3 separate regions of the Homo sapiens genome follow, and all the other regions are linked to region 1. Evidence: promoter capture Hi-C in human tissues and cell types (Jung and others, 2019). All regions are on one chromosome and are shown on one strand. Each heading gives the region's core, a stretch centred on a gene start or on the middle of the fragment in contact. The rest is flanking DNA. Distances are from core to core; before and after follow the strand shown.

The links. The method cuts DNA at HindIII sites, captures the fragments that hold promoters and counts their contacts. A contact is called where the count stands out against the background at its distance.
Region 2: a fragment that was not itself captured here is called in contact with the fragment with the promoter of PLIN1 in region 1 in 1 of the 25 tissues and cell types used here (mesendoderm cells).
Region 3: a contact is called between the fragment with the promoter of ZNF710 here and the fragment with the promoter of PLIN1 in region 1, in 2 of the 25 tissues and cell types used here (mesendoderm cells and thymus).

Annotation. Positions count from the first base shown.
Region 1 is chr15:89,677,424-89,681,526 of GRCh38, reverse strand. PLIN1 (perilipin 1) reads left to right here and starts at 2,160. Exons shown (of 9, transcript NM_002666.5): 1 at 2,160-2,276; 2 at 4,024-4,082. The coding sequence starts at 4,038. The HindIII fragment of the contact is 12,360 bases long and covers 1-4,103 here.
Region 2 is chr15:90,016,567-90,020,669 of GRCh38, reverse strand. All of the region lies in intron 1 of ZNF710 (zinc finger protein 710), which reads right to left. Among named protein-coding and RNA genes, the nearest start is that of MIR3174, 12 kb to the right of the region's middle. The HindIII fragment of the contact is 6,651 bases long and covers 1-4,103 here.
Region 3 is chr15:89,998,879-90,002,981 of GRCh38, reverse strand. It overlaps ZNF710 (zinc finger protein 710), which reads right to left and starts at 1,658. Exons shown (of 5, transcript NM_198526.4): 1 at 1,368-1,658. RefSeq lists enhancers at 1-76, 77-845 and silencers at 545-1,044, 1,460-1,628, 2,037-2,206. The HindIII fragment of the contact is 12,330 bases long and covers 1-4,103 here.

The sequences.
Region 1 (4,103 bases), core at 911-3,410:
TGTCTGTGAGTGTGTTCTGGGAAGAGAGAAGAGTTAAACATAAGGCAATCCATCAGATAATCCTCAATCAGCCTACACAGTTGGTACAGCGAGCTCTGGGCTAGAAGATCCAGGCTGAGGAGGAGGATGGAGAAAGATTGAGATGTAGAGCCTCTGGGTTGAGAGGGACCTCTGAAATGAACTCATCTAGACTGCTGCCATGGAGATGGTGCTCTACAGTAGCCCTGTCAATCGCTGGCTGGCTTCTGCCTAGGTAAGTCTGCCTTGAATTCATGGTGGTATGTTATGTTACAGTGGTATCCATCTTGGTACTTTTGTCCTCTGCAATGGTGAGTGGTGGGGAGTTTGGGAAATACTACCTCTTCTAAGAGGTTTGTGTAAACCTTAATGGTGTCCTGGTACCACCCTGTGAATCCTTCTTTGTAACTAATGTTTTCCACCCCAGAGCCTCCACATTCATGAGGGATGCCAAAAATCGAAGAAGTTCTTCGTAGATGTACAGCCCAGCACATTCACAACTGAGCATTGTTGCCTGACAATTCATTTATTCAACAATGAATGTTTGAGTGCCATGCATGGTTTTGGGTATCCACTTGTGAGCAAGATGACCTAGGTCCCTGCTCTCACTTGGTGGAGGGGTAGGGAAAGCAGGTAGGTACGGAGAAGGAAAGAAGATAGAACTCTATGCCCTGCAAGCTACTGCTAGAAAACTAACACTTCTGTCTTCCCTCGGGACTCTCCTAGGCCCTTTCACCACTTCTCACCTCTCACCCACATTCTGCACTCCCAGCTAAAGCAGCCAAAGGACTATTTGATTTGGCAGAGCTTTCAGGCACAAAGCCCTATGTTCCCTCTGGCCCAAAGCCACTACTCTGAAGGCTGAAAACTGCCCTTTGGCTCAGGTTGCTGTCCAGTCACAGCCTCACAGATAATTTGTGCTGAACCTTGAGGTGAGGGCAGAGGCCACTTCTTTAAATACTTTGTCTTCTCTACTGCCTTACATTTGAAAAGCACAGGTTGGATCAATAAGTATTAAACGTATAGCGTATTACTCCTTTGAAGCCTCCCTGCTTGACTCCTCCCTTTCCTGCCTTCTCATTCCCTACTTTATTGCATCACAGATACGTAATTTATTACCAAGGATCTTTCATAATTCCCCACCCCTGCCTCTTTCTTCTCTTGCCCACACTGTGTGACTTAACAGAGTCAACAATACATATAATTCCACCAGCAACAAAGAAAATAAGTTTTGTTTTCCTATTGTCTGTTTTCATGAAGAGGCCCTTCTTAGTTAATCTGAAAGCTATGGCTTATACCATAGTCCTCCATCATATCTAAAGCCAGGAACTAGAACTTGGGCTTGTGCTTGAGTCCTGGGTAAAGAAGGGTTGAGTGGTGCTAATTCTTGGCTGTCTGGGTGCTCTTGATTAGTGATAGAATCCTAGTCAACACTGTCGCTTATCCAGACCCAGGAGAATAAAAATCTACTTGGCTCTCCTACTCTTCATTCTGGTAGCATCTTAGGCCAGGTAAAGTTCAATAAATTTTTTTGAATTCTAAGAAGTGGGAATTCCTCCCTCAACTCAAAGGCTATATTGTCAAAAACTCAACTCCCGGCTCTGTCGCTTCTTCACTGAGGGCAATTTATCTCCATAATCAAAGATGAATACATTCAGATGAACTCTTCTGTGTGGGTTTAAATTTTACTGTTCAGCATTCAGTCTTGCTAGTAAATAAGAAAAGATGAGAGAAATGGATTGAAAACTCCCACAAGACCCTCTATGGAAAAGGAGCCAAAAGATTGCAGAGGTATATAGAACTTTAGAGCTTTTGAGTTTAATGATGTCTATCCCTATACCTTCTTTCTGGAAAGCAGATTTTTGTGAATTGAGGGCAGGAACATTACAGAACTGATGCTTCATGGCTCTGGAATACTAAGTCCTCTGAGCCTGGATCTCCTTCAGCTCTGCCACCTACCTCCTTGTTTGCTAAATGTCCTTAGAGAAGTTAGGATATGCCTGGGGAACCCTGGGTCATATAACCATGACAACTGGCTGACCCTGTTGTCTCTCCCTCTCTGCCCTCCTCTAGCTGGGAGGTGGAAGCAGCATTGCCCAAGCCTCCCAGGAGTGACAGGAATTGTTTCTGCCTGAGGAGACACTCTGCAGCCTGGGCTCTGTGAGACTGAGGTGGCGGTCAGCCGGAGTGAGTGTTGGGGTCCTGGGGCACCTGCCTTACATGGCTTGTTTATGAACATTAAAGGGAAGAAGTTGAAGGTAAGGGCCTCTTGGGGATTTTGCTGGGGATGAAAAACTCTGCAGGGAAACTACTGAGGGAGAGATTCTGGTATAGATACCAGAATCTAGAAATAGAGGAATTGGATAGGCACAGTGGATCATGCCTTTAATCCCAGCACTGCAGGTGGCCAAGGCAGGTGGATCACTTGAGCCCAGGAGTTCAAGAACAACCTGGGCAACACAGTGGGATCCTGTCTCTATAAAAAAAGAGAAAAAATTAGCCCTGCATTGTGGTGCATGCCTGTAGTCCCAGCTACATGAGAGGCTGAGGTGGGAGGGTACCTTGATCCCAGGAGGTCAAGGCTGCATTGAGCCATGATCGTGCCACCACATTCCATCCTGGGCAACAGATTGAGACCCTGTCTCAAAAAACAGATAGGGAGAGGGGGAGAGGGACAGACAGAGAGAAAGAGAGAAATAGAGGAATTAACCCAGAGCCTTTTCAAAGATGAAACCTTTAACTTGTTTATTTATTTTTTTAGAGATGGGCATCTCACTGTATTGCCGAGGCTGATCTCAAACTCCTGGGCTCAAGCAATTCTCCCATGTCAGCCTCAGTAGCTGGGATTACAGGTGCTTGCCAGTGCACCCAGCTTGAAACTTCTTGTTTTAGTCTCTTTTGGACCCTCATTTAAGAGCCTTAAGATTTTATCTAAAACTTTTTATCTCTTATGGCTACCTGCATTTTTTATTTCCTAACCTGAACTCCTTTTTTTTTTTGAGACAGAGTCTCCCTCTGTCACCCAGGCTGGAGTGCAGTGGCAGGATCTCAGCTCACTGCAACCTCCACCTCTCAGGCTCAAGCGATCCTCCTGCCTCAGCCTCCCAAGTAGCTGGGATTACAGCTGCCCACCACCACGTCTGGCTAATTTTTGTATTTTTAGCAGAGACGGAGTTTCACCATGTTGCCCAGGCTGGTCTTGAACTCCTGAACTCAGGTGATCTGCCTGCCTTGGACTCCCAAAGTGCCGGGATTACAGGCCTGAGCCACCGCGCCTGGCCTCTTAACCTGAACTCTTATAGGAAACATTATTCTTGGCCGGGCATGGTGGCTCTTGCCTGTAATCACAGCACTTTGGGAGGCCAAGGTGGGCAGATCACTTGAGGCCAGGAGTTCGAGACCAGCCTGGCCAACATGATGAAACCCCATCTCTACTAAAAATACAAAAATTAGCCAGTGTGGTGGTTCATGCCTGTAATCCCAGCACTTTGGGAGGTCTAGGCAGGTGGATCACTTGAGGTCAGGAGTTCGACACCAGCCTAGCCAACATGGTGAAACCCCATCTCTACTAAACAGAAAAAAAAAAAAAAACTAGCCGGGCGTGGTGGTGGGCGCCTGTAATCCCAGCTACTTGGGAGGCTGAGGCAGGAGAATCCCTTGAACCCGGGAGGCGGAGGTTGTAGTGAGCCGAGATTGTGCAACTACACTCCAGCCTGGGCAACAGAGCAAGAATCCATCTCAAAAAAAAAAAAAAAGAAAGAAAGAAAAGAAAAAGAAAGAAACATCAGTCTTGACAAGTAAGCTATGGAGCAACTCATTGCTATGGGACCCTAAGGAGTGGGGCTATTGTGTGTGATATTCACCCTCCAACCTAATGCCTTCTGTTCAGGGCAAATGGGCCCCCAGGCAGCCTGGGCCTAGTTGGTGGCCATGAGAGGTAGGGAAGTGACCCAGTGGAGCTCAAGCCTGAGGGCTTCTGATGGGACCTGGGACTCTGTTTTGCAGCTTGAGGAGCGAGGATGGCAGTCAACAAAGGCCTCACCTTGCTGGATGGAGACCTCCCTGTAAGTAACTTGGGCTCATCT
Region 2 (4,103 bases), core at 465-2,964, 340 kb before region 1:
AGCCCACCCCAGGGGAAACATGCAGCCTCCTTCTCCCAAACTGCGCCTCTCATTTCCAACACACATGAGGCGTCAGGTTCACAGAAACCGAAACGTCCCTCATCTCAAGGGGCTGGGGTTTGTGTTTTTGTTTTTTGTAACCCATCCCGGCAGCAGCTGGCATGCTGTGTCTCCCCGGGGGCGGGGAGGCAGTTCGGGCCTCCACCAGCCCCCATGGCCTTCTTGGCAGAACTGAGAAGAAAGGGTGGGCTGGGCTTGGGCCTCAGCTGGGACAGCCCTGCCTGGACGGAAGGGTGCAGGGGCGTTGGTAGCAGAGCTGGAGGAGGGAAGGGGCTGTGAGGTGCCTGGATGTGCCCAGTCCTGAAGGTGGGCACCAGTCTAGGTCCCGGCAGGAGAGAAAAGGGAAGAAAGAAGCTCAGCCCACAGGAAGGGCCCCAGAGGCCCCATGAAGAATGCGCTGTCACGCAGGAGGAAGACAGCGGAAAAGGAGGAAGAGCCGGTCAGCAGTGGGAACAGGAAGGTCCGATTTAGACCACGTAAATGCTACTTCCTCAGTAATTCCATCAAACTTCCCTCTGTTCCCCACACCAAGTGATGACGAAGAACTGGGCTTCAAGGGGCTGAAAGTCTGGGCAGAGGCACTTCCTTGGCCTGGACTCCTGGGCTAGAGTCTGAGGCCTCCACAGGAAATCCTCGGCTCCCCCACTCACCGCCCCCCAATAAGCACCAACCTAGTCTCTGGATTAGGGCAGGATGTTTGTTTAGGAGCATTCTCTTGGAAGAAAGACCAGCCTAAGTTCTCTGACAGACTCTGGAATCCTCAAAGCCAGCTCTCTGTCCCGGGCACCCTAACGGCTGGCACCAGAGAAGGTTACCCTGGGGAGCCACAGGCCTGCAGCTTCCTGGGGTCATGGGAGGCAAGACAGGGTCTCTGGGCCCAGCCCTCGCACTCCCATTGTAAAGCGACGGGCCAGGATGACAGACTCCCTTTCCTAGGTCAGCTGTGCCCGGAGTCTCTCAGGCCCTTCCTTGCCATTTACTCTCAGCCAACCTGTATGACCCGTGAGAAACATTAGGAAACAGAGGTCTGAAAGACTCACAACCATGTTTAAAAGAATGGGAGTTAGTATTTGGCTAAACAGAATCCAAATATGATACAATGTGTCTGGGGGCAATTTACCCATCTAGACGAACAGCCTTTAGAATGTGTCCTTGGCCCAGTGATTCTCTTCTGGAGATGTATCCCAAGGAAATAACCAAGTCTGTGGGCAAATATACCCAAGGATGTTTACCACAGCATTCTTTACAAGACAGAAACAGAGGAAACAAGCTAAATGTAGGAGATTGGTTAAATAAATGATAGTCCATCTGTTCAAAAGAACTATACAACCCTTTAAAGTGACTTGACGGAGGCTGCTTAACCTGATGGAAATTTTAATCACATGTTGTAAAGTAAAAGCAAAAAAAAAAAAAAAAAAAAAAGAAAGAAAAAGTAATAAGATGGTACAAACAGTATGATCTCATCTTTTGAAATTGAAAAATATTCTGGGGGGGCTATACAATATACTAAAATATTAATAATTATAGGTGGTTTTTATCTTTTTTGCCTACTTATAGTCCCTAAATTTTCTGCAATAATCATCAACCTCTTTGTAGCAAGAAAAAAAAATCAATAAAAGCTATTTTCTAAAAAACAAAAGGAAGAGATACAAGATCCAAGAGACTGTTCATTCCTTGGGCATTCAAATCTAAGATGGATTAAAAAACAAACAAACAAACAAAAAACCACTAGACAGAGACATCTTAAATCCACCTAAGAATATTTAAGAATATTTTCAAGGTGGTTTCCAGGACAGGGAAATTAGAATCCTCCAGAAGGCCCTACTGAGCACAGGAAGACTGAGAGCCACCAGCAGGGAGACACATCCTCCAGCAACGTCCATGAAGACCCAGGGCCCAGCTTTCCTGTGTGGGCCCTTCCAGTCACTGTAGCTGAGTGGGGAGGTGAGGGGCAGGCAGGGGCCAAGGTGCAAAAAGGCAAAGCAGACATGACCTCTGTCCTGGTTTACGGAAAGGGCAATGGCCGTTTCTTTAGACAGTGAATTCAAAGAGGAGGCGAAAAAAGGCCAGTTCTTAATCTGAGATTTGTTAATCTAGGTGGCGACAAGAAATGAATTTTTACAACCACGGTAGGAAAACCCCAGCTGGGCGCGGTGGCTCACGCCTGTAATCTCAGCACTTTGGGAGGCCACGGTAGGCGGATCACCTGAAGTCAGGAGTTCAAGACCAGCCTGCCAACATGGTGAAACCCCGGCTCTACTAAAAATACAAAAAGTAGCTGGGTGTGGTGGCACACGCCTGTGATCCCAGCTATTCAGGAAGCTGAGGCAGGTGAACTGCTTGAATCCGGGAGGCGGAGGTTGCAGTGAGTCGAGATCACGCCACTGTCCTCCAGTCTGGGTGACAGAGCAAGACTCCATTTCAAAAAAAAAAAAAAAAGAAAAAAGAAAAGAAAAGCCCCAAAACAGGGATTTGGAAGAGAAATTCTAACAAGCTCTGTAATTGAAGCAAAAGAACACAGCTGATGTTACACAGAAGTTTTTCTGGGGGAGACAGAACACAAGAAGATGATGGAGCAGAATGCTGGGTAGGACGTCCAGAGCGCTCACAGCACACTGTGAGTGAGAAGCTAGCCTTTGCTAAGAGAGATGCCCTGGAGCCCAAGGAAGGAGATTCCATAGGGCATGGCCTTAATTATTCAAGCACCAGGAAAACCTGAGGAGCAGTGGGGAGGTGTCTCAATGTTGCCGGTCCCTTTATGATCAAAAGCCAAAAGCTTTAAAGTCTATTTCAGATATCAAAATGCATCCATTTGGGAACCGTTTCCTGGGTGCTTCCCATCCATTCTCGAATTCTGCAAACAACTGGGCACTGATGAGTATAAACTTTCCAGGGGAACAGCACCATGCTGTTCAAGACACTCCCACCTTCACCAAGTAACCAAACAAAAGTGGACAGGATGGGTCATTAGGATGCATCCCTTGCAAGATGCCAAGCAGTATAGTGACAGGATGTTGGACATGCCAGCTCAGGCCCACAGATCCCGAAAACTTCCTACCCCCGAGAGCATTCCTCAGCCCAAAAGGACCCTGCTTCTTTCTTAAAGAATGATGACTCCAAGTTAGAAAATAAATATGGCACCACACACAAGGACAGCCGGAGCTGGATGATTTTGTATCTCTTAAAGACATCAAATTCTTCCCCTGGTGAAGCTATAGCCTGTAAATTACAGCCTTGTATTATATATGGCCAACACTTTCAGCTTTGTTCTCCATACAGCATTTCTCATCAGCAAGGAGGAAGCAGTCAATACCCTACTTTGAAAAACAGCACAGGTGGTTCTGGGAAACAAATAATAAAAATGCACCTCTCCCTCCCTTTAATTAAAGACATGCTATCCAATGGCACTTCTGAATAGAAAAATATTTTTAAAAAGTTATTCTCCCAGAATCTTCCAAGTACCAAGTGCCTTTACCCCTAAAAAGTTCCCTGCCATAAAACAAAGTGAATGCACCAGCTTAGGGAGCCAGGAAATGCTCCCTCAGCACCTGGCAGCAGCTGGCACCTACCTGAGGCCAGTTTACAGACAGAAAGAAAAGCTCCCTTGAAATAACGCTAAGGTTCAGACATTCTGATAAAAGCTGGGAACTTCAAAGGCAGGACTGCAGAGCCAATCCGTAATCCTCCTCGAAGTGTCTGATGTGGCTGGCTGGGCTCTGGGCTTGCCTTTACCACCTACTGCCTGAGCTTTTGCCCCGTAGGCACAAGCCAGCTGCAGAGGCAGGAGTGGAAGTTTCTTTACAGTCACTCCCTTTGCAGAGATGGGTCTAGGCTATGGTGTATGGCCATTTGTCCTTGACCAATGAAATGTTGGTTAAAAAAAACAAGAGGCCAGGCACAGTGGCCCACGCCTATAATCCTTGGGAAGCCAAGGTGGAAGAATCACTGAGGCCGTTAGCTTGAGACCAGCACAGACCCCACCTCTACAAAAAATTTAAAAATGAGCCAGGCATGATGGTACATGCCTGTAGTCCCAGCTACTT
Region 3 (4,103 bases), core at 409-2,908, 320 kb before region 1:
GAATCGCTTGAACCCGGGAGACGGAGGCTGCAGTGAGCCGAGATCGCGCCACTGCACTCCAGCCTGGGCGACAGAGCAAGACTCCATATCAAGAAAAAAGAAAAGGCACCCCGGATACTGCTACGCCTTGCCCTAACCGTCTCGCAAATCCTAGAGATACATGAATGACCCTTTCAGGTTGGTTAAAATCCACACAAGCACCTCCCTGGCCTCTTAAATCTTTCCAAACTACAGCTTAGACTGGAGGGAAGCAGTTGCAGCGCCCATAAAAGTCATCTTAAAAGGCAAGTTGGAAAAAAACCCGATACGCACTAGTTAGCAAGTCCGCGGTGAAGGGGGCGGTGGCCCAAGGGCCGGATCTGCGGGATCTGTGCGCCTAGGGTGGGGAGGCTGGGGCTGCCCCGTCGGTCCCCGAGCCCGCGCGCCCACCTGGTAGCCTGAGGGCCCCGATCTGACGCTGGTGCTCACGCCCCACAGCTCCATCCAATTAGGAAAATGACCGCGAGAAGACGGAGAGAGGGCGACGAGGAGGAAGGGGGGCTGAGCCGCGGGAGGCTCAAGACGGGCCGTAGGGACCCCGCCCGCCACCCCCACCCCCACGCCCCCAGACAGCGAGCGCCGGTCCTGGGTCCCCGGCCCGCGGCGCCCCGACGCTGTCCCGGCGGAGATCCCGCGGCGCCCAGCGTGCGGCGGCCAGTGGCCCTCGGGGACGCCCCCAGCCCCGCCAGCGGCGCGCTCAGCTCTCCCCCACCCCCGGCCGGCTGGGACGCGCAACAACCCCACCCGCTCCGAGAATAAAGTTTGTGGGCAGCCGTAGGGGCGGGGCGGCGAGGGGGTGAAACTTTGAGTCCCGGGCCGGGTGTGGGGGGAGCGCACCCAGCACCGGGACACCCACGTGCGGGCCCGAGAGCCTCCGCCACCGTCGCCTCCCGGGCCTCCCGCGCCGCCGCCGCCGCCGCCGCGACGCTTTCCTTTCATTTTTGCCTCTCTCTCTCTCTCTCTCTCTCTCTCTCTCATTCGCGCGCTCTCCTCCCTCTCGCCCTCTTTCGCTCGCTCCCTCCCTCTCCCTTCCCCCTCCCCCTCCTCTCCCTCCCCCCCACCCCAGACGCCATCTCTCCCTCTTTCCCCGGCTCTCCCTCTCTCCCTCCAGCTCTCCGGCATGAGGGAATGTGGAAGTGAAAGGAAAAGACGACATGTTTGCAGCGCGGCGCGGGCCTGCGCGCGGCCGTCCCCAGGGAGAGGCGGGGGGCGGGTCGGCCGCGGCCGCAGCGACCCACCCCCGCGCCCCCCGCGCCCCCGCCGGCCGGCAGCGCGGGGCTGCGGGGCTGGGGCTGGGGCTGGGGCGGGGGGCCGCGCGGGACACTCACCCTGGGTCCGGGCGCGGCTCCTGCGCTGGGGCCCTCGGCGGGCCGGGCCGGGCCGGGCCGGGGGCTCCTGGCTGCCCACCGCCCGGGCTGCTGCTGTGCGCCCGCCGCCCGCCTCCACGCGCGCCCGCCGCCTGCTCCTGCCGCCCTCCCTCCGGCTCCTCTCTTTCTCTCTCTCCCCCCTCCTCTCGCTCGCTCTCTCGCTCGCGCTCTCTCCCTCCCTGGAAGAAGGGAATGAGGCAGGGCTGACGTGAAGGGATGCAAAACAGCTCCTCCTAAGCCAGCTCGCAGAGGAAGAGAGAGACAGAAAAGCAGCCCTTTTATCTCTCTTTTGTTTTCTCACTTCCTTCCACCCCCAACACCTCCCTCTTGTCAGCCCAAGTTTTCTTTTCTCTTTCTACCGCAGAGGATTTTTCTTCCTTTCTTTCTCTTTCTTTCGGTTCAACTCTCCCACTCGAATTGAAAGCCTGAAGGGTTTTCTTTCTCCTGTTTTTTTCTTCCCTCTTTTCTTCCTTCTTCCTCCTTTCTTATTTCTCTAAAAGGGTTTTGTTTGCTGTGGGAGTTTCGTTTGAAAATCAAGTCACGCCTTTTTTCCTTCTTTTCTTTCTTTCTCTCTCTCTCTTTTTTTTTTCTCCTCTCAGCAGAAAAGGGGAACAAAGATTAACTGAAGCGGGGAAGAGGCAGACCTCGCTTGGAAATGGGGGGCCCGGCCCTGTCCGGTACAAAGGGGGCCCGGGGGCCCTGCGCCCCGCCCCCCCCAAGGGAAGCCAGGGGCGTCCTCTGGAGAGGAGAGCCGGTGCGGGTGTTGGGGCACGGGTGCGGCTCCTGGGTGCCGGTTCCTTCCCAAGTGCGAGCGAGGGCCGCCGAGCCCGCCCCTCCCCAGCCAGAGGTGGCAAGCTGGGTGTGTGTGCTTCACTTATGTATTTTTAAAGTAGGCAGATGGGCCTGGAACAAACATCCCCGCAGAGCACTGAACAGCAAAAGCCTTTAAACAGCTGTTAGCAGAGCCCTGGACGGCCTGACTCGAGGGAGCGGCGCGGGCTCCGAGCGCCAGGGCCCGGGTGGAGAAGGGGCTCAGGGCAGCTGCTGGGATCGGCGGGCTGGCGGGGTCCCCGAGCCCAGGGCCTGGGCCTCGGCCCCGGGGCGCACTGCTGGGGGGCGCCGAGGCGTGGTCGCTGGCAGCGCGGCCGTCAGGTCCCTCTCGGCTCCCTGAGGGGCCGCGGGGTTTGGCACAGCCTCGCCGCCCTCCAGCTCCGGCGCAGGCCGGACACCAGGCCTCCAACCTCCAGAACACCCGCCACTCCGAGCCGTTTCTCGACTGCAACGCAGGGCGGGTCCGGAGCCCTCGGACAGAGCCGGGCAGTGCCGCCAGGAAGGGTCAATTATTCATGGGGCGCCCGGGCGTGCTCCCAAGACCTGCTCTGTCCTCGGGTTCTCCGGAGGAGTGGGGAGAAGACGGGGGAAAGTTCCCAAAGCAAAGTTGGTCACATTTGTCATTTTCCCAAGTAAGTATTGAGCACCTGCTGGATGCCGGGCCCTCGGACTGGGGCTGCAGCCAGGGGGAGAAACGTGAGGTCTCGGTGGGCCCCGAGAGCAAACTCAGGGAACAATGCAAGGGAAGCTGCGGCTCAGGACCAGGTCACCGGGAGGAAGGAAAGCCTGGATCCTCTCCCCTCCCTCTTCCCTTCCTTCCCTTCCCTTCCTTCCTCCCGGCTGCATCTCCTTGGCTCCACCCCTTCTCCTCATCAATTCCTCCCACACTTCCCTGCTCTCCCTGGCTTTTCACTGAAGGGTCCCTTCTCCCAGGGAGGAGCAGATGCTGAGCCCCATTGTCTCTCCCCCAGTGACTGCAGCCTCCCGGGGACACGACCTGCCACTCCTCACCCCTCCCCCCAGCCCTGAGCCCTGGGCCTTTAGAAACGAGAGCCCCAAGGCCACGGCCCCTCGCCCCACCCTAAACCAGCTCCTGGTGCTCTGAGCTATGACTCCAGTCACTCAGAACACATTTGTCTCTGACGAGGAGTGAGGAAACAGTAGCCTGAGAGTTTGGTTCAACAAGAAGGACACCATGGTCTTTTAACATCAGCACCCTGAGCCCCCAATGACCCCAGGGCCTTTGCCCAGGTCTGCAGGAAACCACATTTCCGTCATCACTTGCAGCCTCCCACTTAGTACACCCAAGCTGCATCCTCCAAAAAAGCAGAATGCAGCTCTTAGAGCCAAGCATGCACTTAACAAATGCCTACTGAGTACCTACCCCGTGCCGGCGAAGGTGCTGGCTGCTGAGGACCGAATCATCAGCAAGACGCAGTCCTTGCTTTGGCCTTTGGCTTTGCAGGCGAAGGAGCAAGAAAAGAAGACAGCAACCTCAGTGCCATGCGATACAGGCAAGAGTGAACCAAGAAAGCTCCTAAGAGGGTGCTTGGACTAAGGTGGTCAGGTGTGGCTTCCTGGAGGAGGTCGTGTCTAGATTAGGCTGTGCTAGCCAAATGCATGGGAGAGAACAGTCTGTCCAAAGGCCCCAGGGCAAGACGGCACATTATTACAGGTTCTTAGAACTGTCAAGAGTTGAAGTGTTTACTGCAGCTTAGAATACAAGTGGGTGGGGGGAGAGTGAGGATAGAGCACAAGTGGGAAAAAGGGGAGGGTGTCAGGGAAATATTCAGATTTTAGCCCCTCCCACTTGCTAACTTCATGAATGTAAATGAATAACATAACTTCAGTGAATAACTTCGACTT